Regions from separate parts of the Homo sapiens genome. Here all the other regions are linked to region 3. The links are contacts of gene promoters, found by promoter capture Hi-C in human tissues and cell types (Jung and others, 2019). All regions are on one chromosome and are shown on one strand. Each heading gives the region's core, a stretch centred on a gene start or on the middle of the fragment in contact. The rest is flanking DNA. Distances are from core to core; before and after follow the strand shown.

Region 1 (2,700 bases), core at 21-2,520, 570 kb after region 3:
AAACTCACTGAACACTTAAGTGGGTATGTTTTATTATTTGTAAAATATACCTCAAAAGCAGTTTTAAAAATGTATTCAAGTACATACTTAAGATCTTTGCATTTTACTCTGAGTATACCTTAATTTTAAAATCTGTTTTTTAAAAAGTATTATGTAGATACCTTTTATTTTCCCAATGTCTTTATTAAATGACATCTCCACGTTTTGCTTCTTACCTCTATTTTTTTTTTTTTATTTCTCTGTCTCTCAGGCATGCACACACACACACCAAAAAAAGTACATATGCATAATCCTTTTGGCTGAATAAAATCAGTTGCAACTGTTATTTCGGCCCTTATTTGCTCCGGGTAAATATTCGTTAGCTGAGTGGTTTATCTGTATCAGATATTTCTTACATCTTCATCCAGTCACACCAGCTGGACTGACCAGATTGTTTTTCACTTCAAGGGCAGAATTTGTACTCACTGCTGAATGCTTCCAAATGATACGTAGAATAACAAATTTAAGACTTAGATTTTTACTTTTTCAGGTCTTTTTTTTTTTTTCTGTGCTGTATAGCATTTCCCTGAAAGCTTAATCTCATCTGTAAGTGATGCAGTGGATGTGTTACTATTGGATTAATTTATTTACTCTTAGGTAGGTTTGTAATCTGTCATCATGCTGTTGTTTTTTTGTGTGGGTTTGTTTTTGGTTTTGAGACAGGGTCTCACTCTGCTGCCCAGGCTGGAGAGGCTAGAGTGCAGTGATGTGTTTATGGGTCACTGCAGATTCAATCTCCTGGGCTCAAGTGATCTTCCTGCCTCAACCCCTTGTGTAGATGGAAGCACAGGTGCACGCCACCACACCCGGCTATTTTTTTAAATGTATTGTAGAGACGAGGCATCATTTTTTTGCCCAAGGCTGATCTTGAACTCCTGGGCTCAAACAATCCTCCCACCTCGGCTCCCAAAGTGCTGGGATTACAGATGTGAACCACCACTCGAGCTCCATCATTCTGTTATTAGTTGTTCTCTAGTATGAGTCAAAAACTCTTACCTGCCCTTTTACAGTTTTATAAATAAGTAAGCAGAATAGCAGAATGTGGACATTTTTTAAATCCAAATTGAATATGCACATGACTCAAGGAGTCAAATAGTACCGTAATCGGTTTATGATAAAATCCAGTGGTTTGGCTGGGTGTCGTGGCTCACACTTGTAATCCCAGCACCTTGGGAGGCTGAGGCAGGTGGATCACCTGAAGTCAGGAGTTTGAGACCAGTCTGACCTACATGGTGAAACTACTAAAATACAAAATTAGCTGGGCATGGTGGTGCATGCCTGTAATCCCAGCTACTTGGGAGGCTGAGGCAGGAGAATTGCTTCAACCCGGGAGGCAGAGGTTGTGGTGAGCCGATATCGCATTATTTCAGAACAATTTTCCACAAGATCAGTGAGTGCTGTCCAATAGACATATAATACAACCCACATACATGACTTTACATTTTCTTGTAGCCATAGTAGAAAAGGTCAAAAGAAGCAGATGAAATTAATAGCCTGGGCAACAAGAGCAAAACCCCATCTTTTAAAAAATAAAATAAAATATGGTGGTTTGCTGTCCCCACCTCAGACCATTTCTCTGGTCTTTCTCATTGACCACCACTCCCAATCTTTGTTCTGCTGATTGATTACAGCTTGTATATATCTCCATATTTCTAAGCAAAATGTTTATCTTTTTTAAATTTATAAATTCTTTTTATTATTTTTCAGAGACAGGGTCTTAACTCTGTCGCCCAGGCTGGAGTACAGTGGCACCATCGTAGCTCACTGTAGCCTCGAACTCCTGGGCTCAAGCAGTCTTCCTGCCTCCGCCTCTCAGGTAGCTGAGACTACGCTACAGGCACATACCACCATGCCCAGCTCAAAATGTTTATCTTTTGATACATTATTCGAGACCATTATTAAGGTGGATGATTTAGTTTTCTTAAACAGCCATCCCCTTTCTTTTCCTCCCCTCTGCTTCACCGCCCCCATTTTCCCAATGTTTTACCTTTTGGTTAAATCAGTACTCATTGTTTACATTATTTGCCTCTGCACATAGTCACAGATAGTATTGTACTGTACTGTACTGTGTTTCTTTTTTAAACATTATTTCTGTTGTTAATAATTGACTTTTTAATTTTTTTCCTATTTTGTTTTTTAAAGAGATGGGGTCTTACTATATTGCCCAGGCTAGAGTTCAGTGGCTCTTCGCGGGCATGATCCCACTGCTGATCAGTACAGGAATTTCCACCTGCTCCATTTCCAACCTGGACCAGTTCACCCCTTCTTAGGCAACCTGGTGGTCCCCCATTCCCGGGAGGTCAGCATATTGATGCCAAACTTAGTGCGGACACCCGATCGGCATAACGCATGCAGCCCAGGACTCCTGGGCTCAAGCAGTCCTCCCGGGCTCAAGCAGTCCTCCCACCTAAGCCTCCCGCGTAGCTGAGACTACAGACACTTGCCACCACACCAGGTTAATTTTTGTGTTTTTTGTAGAGGTGGGGTTTTGCCATGTTGTCCAGACTCATCTCAAACTTCTCAGCTCAAGTGAGCCTCCTGCCTCAGCTTCCCAAGTAGCTGGGATTATAGACGCATGCCACCACACCCCATGATAATTGCCTTTTTTTTTAATTTGCATAATTTTCTTTGTAGCTTTTGCTAATGTTCCCATATCTTCTT
Region 2 (2,700 bases), core at 97-2,596, 940 kb after region 3:
TTCAGGCTGAACTCCTCTAAGAGTTTAAGATATGTATACAAACAGAGGGAAGATGATGCCTGAGGGACAAGGTGAAAGCTGGGCAGCCAGAGGTCTGGCCCCCCGACCCTTCATCAATTTAAGAGTTCACCTAAAATTGTATTTGAAAGCGGGGGAAGATGCCTCGGTACTTAAACAAGAAAAACAGACTGAGGATACTTTATAATATACCAATTTAGATTTAGGGAGAGTGTGAGGTGAGGAGCACTTCCCAGTTTACTTCACTCTAAACAGGTATTGCAGCAAGGCAGGGACACAGCATAAAGAGTGATTCTAGCACTCCACTGCCTACATAAGAACTCCACAGGCATACAGCCACTTGCTGTCGCTGTAAGTGGACAATCTGGCTTAAGATCAATGTGAAAAAGGGAAATAATTCACAAGTAGCCCTTAAGGGGTGCTTTAGGGGAAAACTCTCAAACTTTGTTTTTCCTCTGCCCTCACACCACACAGAAGTCGTGAAGTTGTCTTCTGTGACCAAACGTGTAGGGTTTTTTCCCAAGCAGCGGACACCAGCTGAGTATCCTCTAATTTGGTTCTGACACTGTCTACCTGGATACAGTGTCATATTCCACAAGATGGGGGCTCAGTCCCCAAAACTGCTCTCTCCTTCTTCAGACTCCAACTGTAAGTCTGGGCCTCCAGAACTTCTGACTGACACTTCAAGCTGGGGTTCCCAAGACCCCCTCCTTGAGTTCTATTAATTTGCTGGAGCATCTCACAAAACTTGGGGAAACACTTATGTTTACCGGTTTATTATAAAAAGTACAGATAAAGAAATGCGTAAGGGCACTGGGCTTCCATACCCTCTCTGGGGGCGCCACCCTCCAGGTGTGTTCAACTATCTGGAAGCTCTCTGAACCCAGTCCTCCTGCGTTTTTTTTTTTTTTTTTTAAAGACAGAATCTCACTCTGTCCCCCAGGCTGGAGTGCAGTGGTGCAATCTCGCCTCACTGTAACCTCTGCCTCCCGGGTTTGAGCAATTCTCCAGCCTCAGCCTCCTGAGTAGCTGGGATTATAGGCCCCCACCACTAAACCCAGCTAATTTTTTTTGTATTTTTAGTAGAGATGGGGTTTCACCACGATGGCCAGGCTGGTCTCAAACTCCTAAACTTGTGATTTGCTCGCCCCCAGCCTCCCAAAATGCTGGGATTACAGGCGTGAGCCACCGCGCCTGGCCCTCCTGGGTTTTTATAAAAGCTTCATATAGGAAACCTTACTTCCCTTCCCCGGGGTATAGGGCCAACACCCTCTCTCTAGAGAGGATCTCAAGACCTACAATCAGAAAGCTGGGTAAAGATCAGAATCTTGCCTTGGGACACGTGTAAGGAGAGCAGGAGAAGATCAGAGATTATTTTCTGAGACCTAACGTACCCTATATTATAACAAAACACGGTAATGGGGTTATGGGTGTTATGAGCCAGGAACCGTGGTGGATGAAAACCAGTATGTATCACAACACCACAAGAGGACACGCAGATATGTCCATTTATAAATTATTTCAGAAGCATGCCAAGTCTTTGTATCTAAATGACATAAAACGTTATTTTGATCCCCTAATAATACATTTTTATGCTCTACCGAAACTACTCAGAAATAATTTCCCACAATAGGAAATATATTTCTTTCACTATTCTTGAGTAACAGAATATTTAAACTATGTTCTCAAGTTTTTCGAAGCCATTTCCCAGGATCAAGGCTTCACCGAAGGTAGCTTTTCAAAAGCGTTCTTGTACCAGGTTTTGCCACTTGATGGCTCAAGTTTTCACACTTTCCTCAGAGAAGTTTTATTTGCATTTTTTTTGGTTGCTGTTTTTTATTTTTATTTTTTTTTGAGACTGAGTCTCACTCTGTCACCCAGGCTAGAGTGCAGTGGTGCCATCTTGGCTCACTGCAACCTCCGCCTCCCAGGTTCAAGTGATTCTCCTGCCTCAGCCTCCCAAGTAGCTGAGACTACATGTGAGTGCCACCACACCAGGATAACTTTTGTATTTTTAGTAGAGATGGGGTTTCACCATGTTGGCCAGGCTGGTCTTGAACTCCTGACCTCAGGTGACCCGCCAGCCTTGGCTTCCCAAAGTGCTGGGATTACAGATGTAAGCCACCGCACCCATCCTCTTGTTGCTGTTTTTAAGTGTAACTGATCTTGAAGCAGGATTCTGAGCACTTCTTGCATTTGGATACTCCCAGTCTCAGCTCACTTCTTTCACAAGAGCAAGGATTCTGTCAACCTAAATTTATAATTCGAATTGAAAATTTTAATAAATTCCACCATATTTCCACTAGACAGGAGTTTCTCAAAAGAGACCACTCAAAAGGTTCTCAGGTCATGAGCTTCCACCAGAAGAGCAGAGCTTTACAGATTGTCAACTGAAGCACAGGTTTCCACAAGCTCTTAAATGGAGCATGAAGGATTCAGAAAAAGAAAGGGTAAAAGCCAGCAATTATCTAAGAAAAAAGTAACTGCTCAGGACAGACTGACTGTCTTAAACTAAAAAACTGGGAAAAGAAAAGGGAACATAAACAACGTTTCTTTTTAGATTCTTATACAGTTAACTTCCCAGCAGAAATATGCTACTCCAATTAACTGCCACCTGCACAATTTACACCCATACTCTCCCTGCTGGGGGTGTGGCTAGCTTCTTTACATGTAGACGCCATT
Region 3 (2,700 bases), core at 106-2,605:
TGCTTATAGGTTTTTATAGTCTTCCTTCACAGGTGGAAACAAGAACGGTGAGACCTGTGAGGTTTATTTCAGAGCCACCCCCGGGCCTGGTACGCCTCCCAGGGAAGCTGGGGTGGGGGTGCAGCTGCCCCTCACTTGGGCCCACCCCACATGCATTCAGTCAGGGCCCCTATGGAGCCGTGTTACAGCCTTTAGACACAGGATCGAGGATCTTCACGGGGTGAGGAGACACGCCCGGCCCATGCCTTCTTTCTCCCGCCAGCCTACAGGGATCTTTTTCAACGAAACTCTAACCAGGTCCCTCCTCAGCTGAAAATCCTTCGGTGGCTCCCCAGTGCCCTTGAGGCAAAGTCCAAACTCCTACGAGGCCCTGGGGCCCAGCACATCTGACCCCTCCGGGCATGCCCATCCCACCCCATCCCTGGAAGCTGCTCTCTAGGAGTTACTCTGAAGCAGTTGCCACTTCTTCCCTCGGGCCTTTTCCCTTGATAATTCTTCACTTCCTCTGGGAAGTCACCCCGACCCCCTGTCAGGTGACCCGCCTCTTAACGGTCGCCGCGTCCCGTCTCTCCCCCACCAAAGCACACTTCCCTTTGCATTGTAATTATCTGTTTACTTCGTCTGTCTCCCTCACTGGACCAGAAGCTACCCTTCGGGAGAGGCTCTGAGTGTTCTGTCCGGGGCTGTGCCCTGGCCCCAGGTACAGTGCCCCACACGTGCTGGGCGCTCCGTAAACACTGGATAAGGGAAGGAACGGGTGCTCTTGGCTAGCTGGGCCAGGCTGCTTTGCAAAAAGGCCGTGGCATTTCAAGCCGCCGAGAGCCACGTGCGGTGTCCCTTTCCTCGCTTCCTCCCCAGTGATGTGCGTTTCCCTCGTCAATGCCACGCTCTCCAGGCGCCAGCCGGGCGGAGGAAATTTCCGCCCCCTCCCAAGCCCGAGGCGGGGGCGGGCGTCGGAAGGTCAGGTGTCCCGGCCGGCGCGCAGCGCCAGGGGGCGTCAGAAGCGCTCAGACCACCGGGCGCTGAGCCGGTGGGCGCGCGGCGTCCTGCCGGGGTCCCACCTCGCAGAGGCCTCGCTTCGCTCGACGTCCCGCCCCGGACAGCCCCAGCACCGGGGACGACCCGCGCTGCGCCAGCGAACCCCGCCTCGGAGGAGTCCCCGCCCGGGCTCTCACCGCCACGCGGCGCGAGCCCGGCCAGCAGCCGGCGCACCTGCTCGGGGAGTGGCCTTCGGCGGAGACGAGCCTCCGATTGGCGCGGAGGTGACAAAGGGGCGTGGCAGATAAGGCCCCGCCCCTCCCACCCCCCACCACCCCCCCGGAGTACTTAAGGGAGTTGGCGGCGCTGCTGCATTCATTGCGCCGCGGCACGGCCTAGCGAGTGGTTCTTCTGCGCTACTGCTGCGCGAATCGGCGACCCCAGTGCCTCGACCACTATGCCGCGCTCTTTCCTCGTCAGGAAGCCCTCCGACCCCAATCGGAAGCCTAACTACAGCGAGCTGCAGGACTCTAATCCAGGTGCGTTGGAGGGGTTCTGGGCTCCAGGAGGTTTGGGGGAGACAGGCGAAGGCTGCGTGGGGGGCACCTGAGGGAGGCGGCCTGCCTGAGCCAGGATCGAGTCACAGGATGTTTTGTGGACCATTGCGGGCTCGGGAGACCGGGCAAGTGGGTCCCCAGTTCCGGGGATCTGTCTGGGTGGTTGGGGGAGTGCCGTGTAGAGGGCAGGGGTCTTCAGCTTGGGGGGCCTTTGTAGCCGGCGAGAGGCGGAGGAGCTCCGCAAGAGGGGAAGGAGAGGAGGCCTGTGTCAGGAGGGCCCTCTGGACGCTGCTGGGGAGAGTCCGGAGTCCAGAGGGTTGAGGGGAGGGGTGGGGAGACGAGATGTGTGTGAGGAGGGGGATTGGGGCAGGGTGGTGGCTCCGGGGCTGGGATGATGGGGTTCTGGCCTCAGGCTGGAGACTGGGGACTTAGGAGAGGGAGATCAGGAAATGACCTCCTTCAACTGGGGGTCCTACGTGTGAGAGACTCAGATTGGGTGACCTGGGCGAGGAGGGCAGGAACCTGGTCTGTCCTGTGGATAATTTTTTTGATCTAATTATGTATTGAGAATCGGCCCCACCCAGCCCCTGGCCAGCGGTGGGCTCATGTTTGTTGATTGAGTGAATGATTTAATTAACGCCTGACTCTGCTTTTTCTCCCTCAGAGTTTACCTTCCAGCAGCCCTACGACCAGGCCCACCTGCTGGCAGCCATCCCACCTCCGGAGATCCTCAACCCCACCGCCTCGCTGCCAATGCTCATCTGGGACTCTGTCCTGGCGCCCCAAGCCCAGCCAATTGCCTGGGCCTCCCTTCGGCTCCAGGAGAGTCCCAGGGTGGCAGAGCTGACCTCCCTGTCAGATGAGGACAGTGGGAAAGGCTCCCAGCCCCCCAGCCCACCCTCACCGGCTCCTTCGTCCTTCTCCTCTACTTCAGTCTCTTCCTTGGAGGCCGAGGCCTATGCTGCCTTCCCAGGCTTGGGCCAAGTGCCCAAGCAGCTGGCCCAGCTCTCTGAGGCCAAGGATCTCCAGGCTCGAAAGGCCTTCAACTGCAAATACTGCAACAAGGAATACCTCAGCCTGGGTGCCCTCAAGATGCACATCCGAAGCCACACGCTGCCCTGCGTCTGCGGAACCTGCGGGAAGGCCTTCTCTAGGCCCTGGCTGC
Region 4 (2,700 bases), core at 89-2,588, 530 kb after region 3:
AAGAAATACGTATTGTAACTTAGTTCTTAGTTGAATTTTATTTCTTACAATTTTAAGCCAGAGTGGGTTGACCTGTCACCCAAGCATGGTTAAAATTGTATTCAGCATGCAACTAGCATGGAGTGTGTCAGTCTTCAATTCATTTCCTTCATTGTTCTTAAGTTTTTCTGCCACAATTAAACCCCACAAGTTAGTCAAGGTGTTGAGATTTTCACTGCTTCTTAATGGATTGCCACATTCCCTGAGGTAGTTTCTTTTGGTCTTAGAGAATTGTCAGGGCCAGCTTTTCTCACCTCCACTGTATGGATATTTTTCTTTTCTAAGATCTTGAAATCAGAAGCTTTTCTCCTAAGTGTAAAAGTAGCTCTTTGTCATACAACTGTAGCGTTTTCTGAAACAGAGTTCAGATGACCTTGAGTCTAAAGTGGCTAACTTTCCAAGGTGTGTATCGCTTTACCAAAACCATTATTTTTCAAGGATTCAAAGAATGTGTTTACAATTGATAGAAAATGGAAGTTTAAAAAAATTAATACTTTATAGCATGTTGAAATGAGGGCAGCCTTATACAAAGTCATACTTTGAGCTTGCCTAGCCTATTGTGATCAGAGAATAATGTAATTTTTGCTTACAACTTGGTAAGCAGGTCAGTTATTCTAACTTATTTTCTGATTAGAACAAAAAGATGTAAAAACTTGAAAACTATTGGGAAAAGAACAAAGAGTGAAGAGGACTTTTGAGTGCTGAGGAATGTGGCAGCTTGGAAAACAAACTTTTTAGGCAGAGATTCTTTGCTAGGTCAGTTTGATAAAGTGAGCATAACCGTATTTTTAATCTTTAATGCTAATGAATAGCATAGATGCTAATAAGCATCTAGGTCTATAAAAAGTCAGCTTTGATAGTGTATATAGATGGCTTTAAACATTGTTTTCTAGCATTTAAACACTTTCAAATCATCCGGTTGCTTGATTGGGCCTAGCTGTCTAAGAGGAGAGAATGAGCCCAGATGAGGAAAAGAGATTGATTTTACTGAGCTAGAATGAGAGGAGAGAGGGTTGAGTGAATGAAAAGAATAGCTCATGTGCTCCCCTCCATCTGTAGTTTAAGAGGGGTTGGGTCCGGTGTTTTGCTTGTTTTCTCGTCTGTAAATTCTTTGATTCTCTGACACCACTCACTATATTTCATTGTGAATGATTTGATTGTTTCAGATAAAGGGGACTGCAATAATACCTTGTGACATGAAGGCAAGATTTATTCATGTTAGAGGCAGGCTTTGTAAAATGGGCCACTCTTCCAATTGACATTTGTTTTTATAGCTGTTTTCATTATGAAATACAATCTAATGCCTGACTAGGTTAAAACCATGTTGTAACAATAGTTCACTAAAATTCCTTACTGATATACAGCTTATGTTGTTATATTCCAAAAAGATGAATATTAAAATTTGCCAATAATGTTTATTTAAATACTATTTTCTTCAGAGGAAAAAAAACTATTTTATGCAAAGGAGAAAGATCTATACACTATGACTCACTTCACTTAAAAAAAAAAAGACTAACGGAAATGACATGGAGAGACTGGGAAGTTCTAGTCATCTTGAGTGACCCATTAGATCTAAATGTTCTTGTTTAGCCCTGGTTTGAGTGAACTAAATTTAGGTGTCTGATCAGTACTTTGGAAATGGTGTAAATGCCTTTGTAATTGTCTGGACTGATATTAGATTAACTGGGAGCACAAGTAGAAATAGTGAAGGAAAGAACTTTTTGCTATTGTTATTTGACATCACTGGCATATTTATAGGAATACTTTGGTGTTTTTGGAAGTAAGTAAACCAACCAGTGGTTCTAAAAAGTCAGCTGGGGGATAATGGTAATGCCGCTGTTTCTTAGCTGCAAGTTATCTGCCGTTACTTCTCCTCCATTTTGCATTTTATCTTGAATAGCTCCTCAAAACCTATTAAAATACCTGGTATTGAATAATGTAATTGAATGTGTACTGAATTTCACAGTGGAAATGAATAAGAAATTTCCTGTGGAGGTTTTTTGACTTAGCTACTGAAATAACGGCCTTTTGTTGTGTGATTCTTTCCCTTTTCTCTTTGTTAAAGAAAACTGTCTTGTGATCTTGTAGATTACAGAATCCTTTTGGCAATTTCTGTTCCTAGCACTGCTTTTTCTTTCTTTCTTTCTTTTAAATAGAAATGGGGTTTTGCTGTGTTGCCCAGGTTGGTCTTGAACTCCTGGCTTCAAGCGATCCTCCCACCTTGGCCTCCTGAAGTTGGGATTGCAGGCGTGAGCAGGTACTTTTTCTGAGGCCTGCCTGAGCCTATATATATTTTGCACAATTTGGCATTCCTCCCTACAGTGTTTATGCTGATTTGTTTCTGGTAACAACTAATACTGGCAAATCGGCTGGGCATGTTACTTTATGCTGCCCATATTCAGGAAAATTGGAATTCTAGCTGGGTCATTGTTCCCAGATGATGTAGTTTGGCACCAGCCATTCCATGTTCACATTTTGAGTATCCAGGAGGGCTGGGGACTTTGGAGTAGTTGGTGATTCCCTCTGCCACATTTCACTGGTTGGTCACTATGGCATCCTTTCCACCACACTAGTAGTCTAGGTTCTCAGATGTTGCTTATGAGCCTGCAATGGTTTCTAGTTTCACACTGCAGAAATGAGTGAAGCCGGTTACCCGTTAAT
Region 5 (2,700 bases), core at 52-2,551, 550 kb after region 3:
TACCATGCCCAGCTAACTTTTTATTTTTATTTTTTATAGAGACAGAGTCTCACTGTTGCTCAGGCTGGCCTTGAACTCCTGCCTTCAGGCGGAACTCCTGCCTTCAGGCGGTCCTCCTGCATTGGCCTCCCAAAGTGCTGGAATTACAGGCCCAATTTTATTCTTGGGATGTATGTCTGAAACTCTTTCCTTCACTTCCTTCCCAAGCCTTAGTTCAGGCCCTTCTCATCTGTGGTCTTCAAAGTCGCCTTCAGCTGGTTCAGGTCCTTCCTTTCTGCTGTATCTTTCATGGGAGGACATGTTATGTATCACTGTCCTACTTGAAAACTTCCATTCCCCATTGATGAGGGTGTTACCTCCAGATTCCTAACACAGGTGCTGAAGGCATGCCTGGATAAAGGCACTCCCTTGATCTCCTGGCCAGGTCCCCGTACACCTGCAGCGCATGCTCCACATTCTGTCTTTACTGATGCTGTGTCTTCTGCCTGCGGAGCCACCCACCATTCTATTCACAGCCCCTGCCTCAGCGGAGCACGTGCCTCCCTCTTCCTACACTGAGCTGTCCTTTCTATTGAATCCCCTCTTTTTTGTAGTATGGGAAATATTTTATTATGAATACTCTTTTCTCTGTTGCCTCCGTGACCACGTTAACTTTGCCCTAATTCGCCTTAGGACTCCATCTGCTTAGGGGAAAGTTAGGATTTGGTTACAGAAAGCAAGCTGCTAGAAAGAACAGTGTTTAGCTTCTGACAGGCAAAATAGGATTTTGCAACATGCTTTTCCTTTTTAATGCTTAGACATTTTATATGAATTAATATTTTTATTTGGTTGCTTATACATTACTTTCTTTTTAGCTAGAATGTGAACCCTATAGGAACATGGGGATTGCCTTTCACATCTTTGTATCCTCAGTACCTAATGTTCAGTCACCCTGTGGTCTTGTGTCGTATATACATTTAGCCTTCCTTAATTAAACCATATGTACTGGTCCCCGTCCCCCACCCCCAAATAGAGAGAAAGAAATTCCTTGAATACTACATTGCCAGTATCAAACCACACCTTGATATCCTCTGGGGAAAGGGAGGTATCAGTTGAAAAGAGAAAAGAGGTTAAAATCTAGGCATTAAAATGTGTAAGGCTTAGATGCTGGCAATTTAAGGTATGTTTTCCTGAGGTTAATTTTGATTGTGTGCAAATTTTACCTCATATCTAACTGTAGGATTTAGTCACCACATAAGATGGGATACCTCCATAAATCCTTCAGAAATGTTTGTGAAATTAAATAAAGCCTTATTGAAGACTCAGCTCTTGAGAGTCATCTACCTACCTAACAGTTATTCTTGAACAGAAGAGTCTTACTTTTCCCTATAAGGCAGTGTGATAGCCATCTGTATATTCATATAATTTATGTTGGCGCTTACTTCATTTAAAAATGTATTCCGTGAATGCAGTTGCCAGGCGGTGTGCTGATCAGAAACGTGTACCAATGGCCTCTTTTATAATTATAAGAGGAAGACCAACCTGAAACAGTCACACAAATGATTAATTTTAATTGTGGAGGAGTGCTGGGAAAGAAAAATAAAAGATGCAATGCAAGTGTTTACAAAGGAGCTTTGAGCTTGTTTGAAGTGGTCCTTGGGCACTTAAGCAAGGCTTAAAGAATGATGTGATTAGAAGTGGCTTAGCAATTCTAAAGAACACAGGGAAGGCGTGTGGCCAGAACATTGGTCCCTAGAGCACATCGCCTCCTGACATACCATTTCCTTAAGTTAATGTTTTACCACTATACATAGGCCCTCCCCTTTGTTTACCCAGATTTTTTTAATTTTAAGGATGTTTTTAATAACTTAGAATCCTGTAATTTGTTGAACAGTCCTGTATTCCCTTTACTTATATTCCTTGAGATTTTATAAAATATTTTTTACATGTCCCAAGTCTTGATTATATCTTTTTACCTCTTGTTAAGAAATACTTACTTTTCTATTTTTATGCTATATTTCATGTTTACTGTAGAAAACAAAAAAAGTAAAATTTTTCTTTATTCCTATCACTGCAGCTTATAAGCACTCTAAACATTTTGATCTATATTTTGCCAATCATATATTTTAGTTAAAATTGTTGTTGACATAATTGTAGATTCCTGTGCAGTTGAAAGAAATAATACAGAGCTGAGCGCGGTGGCTCACGCCTGTAATCCCAGCACTTTGGGAGGCCGAGGCAGGCAGATCATGAGGTCAGGAGTTTGAGACCAGACTGGCCAACATGGCGAAACCCTGTCTCTACTAAAAATACAAAAATTAGCTGGGTGTGGTGGCGGGCACCTGTAATCCCAGCTAGTTGGGAGGCTGAGGCAGGAGAATCGTTTGAACTCCGGAGGCAGAGGTTGCAGTGAGCCGAGATGGTACCATTCCACTCCAGCCTGGGCAACAAGAGCAAGACTGCATCTCAAAAATAATAATAATAATAATAAATAAACTTTAAAAATAAAACAGAGAGATCCCATGTGCGCTTTGCCTAGTTCCCCCATCCACTGCCCATAACATTTTGCAGAACTGCAGTACAGTATCACAACCACAATACTGACATTGATACAGTCTGCTCATCTTATTCATATTTCCCCAGTGTTACTCGTATCCACGTGTGTATGCATTGTGTTTTCAATACTCTTTTATTATAAAGCTGTTTTTAATGTGATTCAAT

The links. Contacts are between HindIII fragments. The study calls those that stand out against the background at their distance.
Region 1: a contact is called between a fragment that was not itself captured here and the fragment with the promoter of SNAI1 in region 3, in 1 of the 25 tissues and cell types used here (spleen).
Region 2: a fragment that was not itself captured here is called in contact with the fragment with the promoter of SNAI1 in region 3 in 2 of the 25 tissues and cell types used here (mesenchymal stem cells and spleen).
Region 4: a fragment that was not itself captured here is called in contact with the fragment with the promoter of SNAI1 in region 3 in 3 of the 25 tissues and cell types used here (hippocampus, lymphoblastoid cells and mesenchymal stem cells).
Region 5: a contact is called between a fragment that was not itself captured here and the fragment with the promoter of SNAI1 in region 3, in 1 of the 25 tissues and cell types used here (IMR-90 fibroblasts).

What each region holds. Positions count from the first base shown.
Region 1 is chr20:50,555,503-50,558,202 of GRCh38, forward strand. The region is part of intron 1 of PTPN1 (protein tyrosine phosphatase non-receptor type 1); the gene reads left to right. It also overlaps the pseudogene RN7SL672P. Among named protein-coding and RNA genes, the nearest start is that of MIR645, 29 kb to the right of the region's middle. The HindIII fragment of the contact is 3,936 bases long and covers 1-2,700 here.
Region 2 is chr20:50,921,664-50,924,363 of GRCh38, forward strand. The region is part of intron 2 of ADNP (activity dependent neuroprotector homeobox); the gene reads right to left. Among named protein-coding and RNA genes, the nearest start is that of ADNP-AS1, 8.0 kb to the right of the region's middle. The HindIII fragment of the contact is 7,393 bases long and covers 1-2,700 here.
Region 3 is chr20:49,981,625-49,984,324 of GRCh38, forward strand. It overlaps SNAI1 (snail family transcriptional repressor 1), which reads left to right and starts at 1,356. Exons shown (of 3, transcript NM_005985.4): 1 at 1,356-1,517; 2 at 2,200-2,700. The coding sequence starts at 1,436. RefSeq lists an enhancer at 1-698 and a silencer at 851-1,370. The HindIII fragment of the contact is 23,979 bases long and covers 1-2,700 here.
Region 4 is chr20:50,512,356-50,515,055 of GRCh38, forward strand. The region is part of intron 1 of PTPN1 (protein tyrosine phosphatase non-receptor type 1); the gene reads left to right. Among named protein-coding and RNA genes, the nearest start is that of PTPN1, 3.3 kb to the left of the region's middle. The HindIII fragment of the contact is 4,243 bases long and covers 1-2,700 here.
Region 5 is chr20:50,534,877-50,537,576 of GRCh38, forward strand. All of the region lies in intron 1 of PTPN1 (protein tyrosine phosphatase non-receptor type 1), which reads left to right. Among named protein-coding and RNA genes, the nearest start is that of PTPN1, 26 kb to the left of the region's middle. The HindIII fragment of the contact is 4,043 bases long and covers 1-2,700 here.